2 separate regions of the Homo sapiens genome follow, and region 2 is linked to region 1. Evidence: promoter capture Hi-C in human tissues and cell types (Jung and others, 2019). All regions are on one chromosome and are shown on one strand. Each heading gives the region's core, a stretch centred on a gene start or on the middle of the fragment in contact. The rest is flanking DNA. Distances are from core to core; before and after follow the strand shown.

Evidence for each region. Contacts are between HindIII fragments. The study calls those that stand out against the background at their distance.
Region 2: a contact is called between a fragment that was not itself captured here and the fragment with the promoter of TYMS in region 1, in 1 of the 25 tissues and cell types used here (dorsolateral prefrontal cortex).

What each region holds. Positions count from the first base shown.
Region 1 is chr18:656,203-658,902 of GRCh38, forward strand. TYMS (thymidylate synthetase) reads left to right here and starts at 1,451. Exons shown (of 7, transcript NM_001071.4): 1 at 1,451-1,745. The coding sequence starts at 1,541. TYMSOS (TYMS opposite strand RNA) reads right to left here and starts at 2,089. Exons shown (of 2, transcript NR_171001.1): 1 at 1,640-2,089. RefSeq lists enhancers at 1,175-1,676, 1,677-2,176, 2,044-2,163 and silencers at 1,414-1,593, 1,764-1,813. The HindIII fragment of the contact is 10,369 bases long and covers 1-2,700 here.
Region 2 is chr18:2,419,857-2,422,556 of GRCh38, forward strand. No RefSeq gene overlaps it. Among named protein-coding and RNA genes, the nearest start is that of METTL4, 150 kb to the right of the region's middle. The HindIII fragment of the contact is 6,885 bases long and covers 1-2,700 here.

The DNA of each region.
Region 1 (2,700 bases), core at 201-2,700:
TCAGTAGAGAGGGTTTCACTATGTTGGCCAGGATGGTCTCAATCTCCTGACCTCGTGATCTGCCCGCCTCGACCTCCCAAGTGCTGGGATTACAGGCGTGAGCCACCGCGCCCAGCCCTCTATTGATTCCAGATCTTTAGATAACAATTCTTTCAACCAAATGTATAAAAAATCAAGTTGTAGCCCAACCACCTTGGGGACATGTTCTCAGGATCTGCTGAGGGCTCTATCACCGGCCATTGGTCACTCATATTTGGCTCAGAATAAATTTCTTCAGATATTTTACAGAGTTTAACTCTTTTCATCAACAGTTCCCACTCCCCAGTGTTAATGTTATAAACAATTCAGTAAAACTGGGAAATGTGGTCTATTAAAAACTTGGGGCCGAGTGCGGTGGCTCACGCCTGTAATCCCAGCACTTTGGGAGGCCAATGTGGGTGGATCACCTGAGGTCAGGAGTTTGAGACCAGCCTGGCTAACATGGCGAAACCCCGTCTCTACTAAACATGAAAAAAAAAAATTAGCCGGGCGTGGTGGCGGCGCCTGTAGTCCCAGCTACGCGAGAGGCTGAGGCAGCAGAATTGCTTGAACCCAGGAGGCGGAGGTTGCAGTGAGCCGAGATCGCACCATTGCACTCCAGCCTGGGTGAGAGAGCGAGACTCTGTCTCAAAAAAAAAAAAAAAAGACCGCCAGGGCTCAAACAAAAAACCTCGGAAAAGCCCTGGCGGTCTTTTTTTTTTTTTTTTTTTTTTTTTTGGGACAGTCTTGCTCTGTCGCCCAGGCTGGAGTACAATGGTCGGATCTTGGCTCACTGCAACCTCTGCCTCCCAGGTTCAAGCAATTCTTCTGCCTCAGCCTCCCAAGTAGCCACCACGCCCAGCTAATTTTTGTACTTTTAGTAGAGACGGGGGTTTCACCATGTTGTCCAGGCTGGTCTTGAACTCCTGACCTCAGGTGATCCACCCGCCTCGGCCCCCCAAAGTACTAGGATTACAGGCGTGAGCCACCGCGTCCAGCGCCCTGGCGGTTTTTAATCAAGTAGAAAAGCTGCATTATACCACTTGCTTCGGTTGCTTCAGTGAGAACGAAGAAATGGAAATGCAAATCCCTTATTAGTTGTAGGAAACAGATCTCAAACAGCAGTTTTGTTGACAAGACCGCAGGAAAACGTGGGAACTGTGCTGCTGGCTTAGAGAAGGCGCGGTCGACCAGACGGTTCCCAAAGGGCGCAGTCCTTCCCAGCCACCGCACCTGCATCCAGGTTCCCGGGTTTCCTAAGACTCTCAGCTGTGGCCCTGGGCTCCGTTCTGTGCCACACCCGTGGCTCCTGCGTTTCCCCCTGGCGCACGCTCTCTAGAGCGGGGGCCGCCGCGACCCCGCCGAGCAGGAAGAGGCGGAGCGCGGGACGGCCGCGGGAAAAGGCGCGCGGAAGGGGTCCTGCCACCGCGCCACTTGGCCTGCCTCCGTCCCGCCGCGCCACTTGGCCTGCCTCCGTCCCGCCGCGCCACTTCGCCTGCCTCCGTCCCCCGCCCGCCGCGCCATGCCTGTGGCCGGCTCGGAGCTGCCGCGCCGGCCCTTGCCCCCCGCCGCACAGGAGCGGGACGCCGAGCCGCGTCCGCCGCACGGGGAGCTGCAGTACCTGGGGCAGATCCAACACATCCTCCGCTGCGGCGTCAGGAAGGACGACCGCACGGGCACCGGCACCCTGTCGGTATTCGGCATGCAGGCGCGCTACAGCCTGAGAGGTGACGCCGCGGGCCCCTGCGGGACGGGTGGCGGGAAGGAGGGAGGCGCGGCTGGGGAGAGCGCTCGGGAGCTGCCGGGCGCTGCGGACCCCGTTTAGTCCTAACCTCAATCCTGCGAGGGAGGGGACGCATCGTCCTCCTCGCCTTACAGACGCCGAAACGGAGGGTCCCATTAGGGACGTGACTGGCGCGGGCAACACACACAGCAGCGACAGCCGGGAGGTAAGCCGCGTCCCAGCGGCTCCGCGGCCGGGCTCGCAGTCGCCCCAGTGATGCCGTGGCCCCCGAGGCGGGCGTCATCGGGCAGCGTTTGCCCAGTGCTGGAGGGTTAGGGAGAGCTGCCTGGGCTTGACCGCGCGCCGGTCTCAAAGTCCTGGCTTTGGCCCCTCCTCCGTTTTCCCCTGTGGACCATTCCGCTTCGCAGCGTTTTCAAAAACTGGAGCGAAAGTGATGTGGGCGGGGCAAAGGCGGCGGGAAGAGGAGAGCACTGAAGCTGGCGCGGGAACTTGGTTTCCTGGTGGCCTCCCATCCAATCCCCACGAACCAGCTTTCCTCTTAAACCTTGAAAAGAGAAATTCGGGAGTTCGAGTATAAGTTCTTAGTCGTCCTTTCCTCTTTCCTTTCCGACAGGAGCACCCCAGGCAAAAAATGTCTCGCGGGTCATTGGCGCCAGGCTTTCAGGGGACAGTGGGGCGGGGCGGGGTGGGCACAGGACGTTAGGCAGCCGTTGGCCCTCCCTAAGGCCACACCGTCCTGCCGTCCTGGATCCTGCGCCAGCTGCGCGGGGGAGGGGACTCGAAGGTGTGTGAGCCAGGGGCTGACCTTGACCGCTCAGATAAATGGAGCGCAGCCTTGACACAGGGGTGGAGGTGGTTTTGAATGGGGAAACCCATTCGTGGTGAAGCAGATTCACTGTAGCTAGCGGAAAAGCCCTCCGGCCCACGGACCCATCTAG
Region 2 (2,700 bases), core at 75-2,574, 1.8 Mb after region 1:
CAGATCTTTGTTATTATAAGAATCTTCCTTGTTATATTAGTCATTTCACCCCAGAGATGAAAGTGATTCTAGCAGTCATCTATATATCTCATTTAACCGCCTCATTTTGTACATGAGGAAATCAAGGCTTGTGGAGGTAAAGTCACGGGCCAAAAACTACAAAGCTACTGAGTAGCACAGCTGGAAGTAGAATCCAAGTGCCTGGATTCCTGGTCCTGTGCCTTCTCCACTATAATCATTGCCTGTATCGTCCACAGTTGCTGCATTATTTTTAAATAGATAACAGAAAAGGCAATGAATGCATGTATTCCTTTACTCAACACGTATTTATTGAGTGTTCACTATGGGCCAGGCATATTCAAGACACCAGAGATACAATAGTTAACAAAACACACAAATTTTCTGCCTTCAAAGAGCTTATACTTTTGAGAGAGGGGAGGGAGAGAGAGACAGAGAGAGAGAGAGAGAAGCAATTGCTAAGGAAAAATAAATAAATTAATCACAGAAGGAAAATATGGGGAAAGGAAATAAAATTCCTAAACAGGGCAGCCAGGGAAGGTGACTGTAAGTAAAGACCTGAAGGAAGTGAGAAAAGTAGCCATGCAAATATAGAGGGGACAAGCATTCCAGACAGGAAGTAACAAGAGCATAGGTCCTGAGGTAGCAGCTCCTGGTGGGGTTCAGGGAACAGGAAGGAGGCCAGTGTGGCAGGTGTGAGTCAATGAGGAGAGAGGCAATGAAGCCAGAAAGGTTGGACGGGAGACAAGTTTGCAGAGCCGCTTCATAGGTCAGTAAGGACTGCAACTGAGTCGGATGGGAAGCCTTAGAGCAGTAACATGACCAGACTTTCATTTGAACAGGATCACTGTGGCGAGGTGCTGAGAAAGAGGACAAGCATAGGCACAGGATGGATGAACTGCTGTAAAAATCCAGGGGAGAGACGACGGTGGTTTGGACCGGGATGGTAGAACTGGGGTGATACCTGGTAGAGTAGACAGAATATGCTGATGAGCCACACGCAAGGTATGAGAGAAAAAGAGGTATTAAGCATGACACCACAGGTTTTGCCTTGAACAACAAGGAGGACAGAGTTGCCATTAGCTGAGTCAGGAAGAATAACGGGGAAAGCTGATTTGGGAAGGGGGTACCGAATAGCAAAAGCTCCATTCTGGACATAAATTTGAGGAGCTCATTAGACATCAGTGTAGAGATGTCAACTGGGTGGTCGAATATGTAAGTTTAGAGTCCAGAGGAAAAATGCTAACTGAAAGTATAAATTTAGGAGTGAAGCAAAAAAAGGTAGTTAAAGCCATGAGAAGGCATGAGATCACCGGGGGAGAGTGAGGATAGATAGAGAGAAGAGGCTCGATTACTGAGCCCCAGGGTTCTCCAACATTTAAATGTGGAGAAGATGTGCTAAAATAAAAATATCAGGGAGCTAGAAAAGCAGCAAAATAATTATGGCCTATTCTCTCTGAATGAGTTCCCATCTCCATACTGCACATCCTTTTATGCCTAAATTCTTCTTCCCTTTTATTAACTCATTTTTGTAAATTGTATCACTCCATTTTATTATTTATCTTACTCGTCAGTCTTCACTGCAAAGGACTCCTAATGTTTTTCAAAATCCAAATCCCCTCCCACTTTCTGAAAGAAGACATTTGCTGCCATCAAATACATTCAGAAGACTATGCCACAGGCTCTGAAGTCTCTTCAACATGGGGAGATACAAAGATGAACAAATAAAGTATTTGTTGTCAAAGACATTATTATAAAAGTGTATAGTTTCCCCAGATGATTATTTGAAGGAGGAAATGGCCATTTGTATATATATTTCTATATATTTCTATTTATGTGTGTGTATGTATACACACACAACAAATATTTATTCAATGCTTGCTAGGTGCCAGCTATTCTGTTAAGTGTGTTGTTATGTATATGCATTCTCTCAATGTCCTCCCAATAATCCCAAAAGGTAAGTACTATTATTATCTACATTCTAGAGGTGAGGAAAATGAGGCTTTCAGATGCTAAATAACTTGCCACGTTTATCAGGTTTAAGAGGTACTGAATCTAGACAGTTTGCCTCCTGAGCCCCTACTTCTTAAACTTTTGCCCAGAATTCTAAGCTGGCCACCAGTGCAGAAGACGGATTTGAGCCCATGCAGCTGTCTTGCTTGGTCTGCATGGTGTTTGTTTTGTTTTTAAATGGACTTTGAATGCCTTCAGGGGATGCACACATTCAGTAATCACAGCCCACACCAGTCATTACAGCCTTCATTTTTACCCTTCATCATTTAACTTAGCAGCTGCACCGAGTGCATTGGAGTTGTTGACCCTTGCTCTACCATCCTTCTTCCCTCGATCTTTAACAGGCTCAACATTACTTTCAGTCCAGCACATTTATGCCCTACTTCTTGCATATTCACACATACCCACACATACACCACCCATCCCAACACCAACGCAAATACCTCCAACACTGCCATCAGGAGAAATAAAACAAAATAGGATTATTCTTTCTTTCCATCCTTGATATTTTCCCCTATGAAAGTCATTTGTAATGTTTAAGGTCCTCTCCCAAATTTACCCCTCCCAATCTAATTCAAATCCAACTCCCACAATGTAAAGGCAAACTTGTTTTTTGCCTAGAAACACAGGACTATGCCCCGGTGATGTTTTGTAACAGGAGGGACCCAT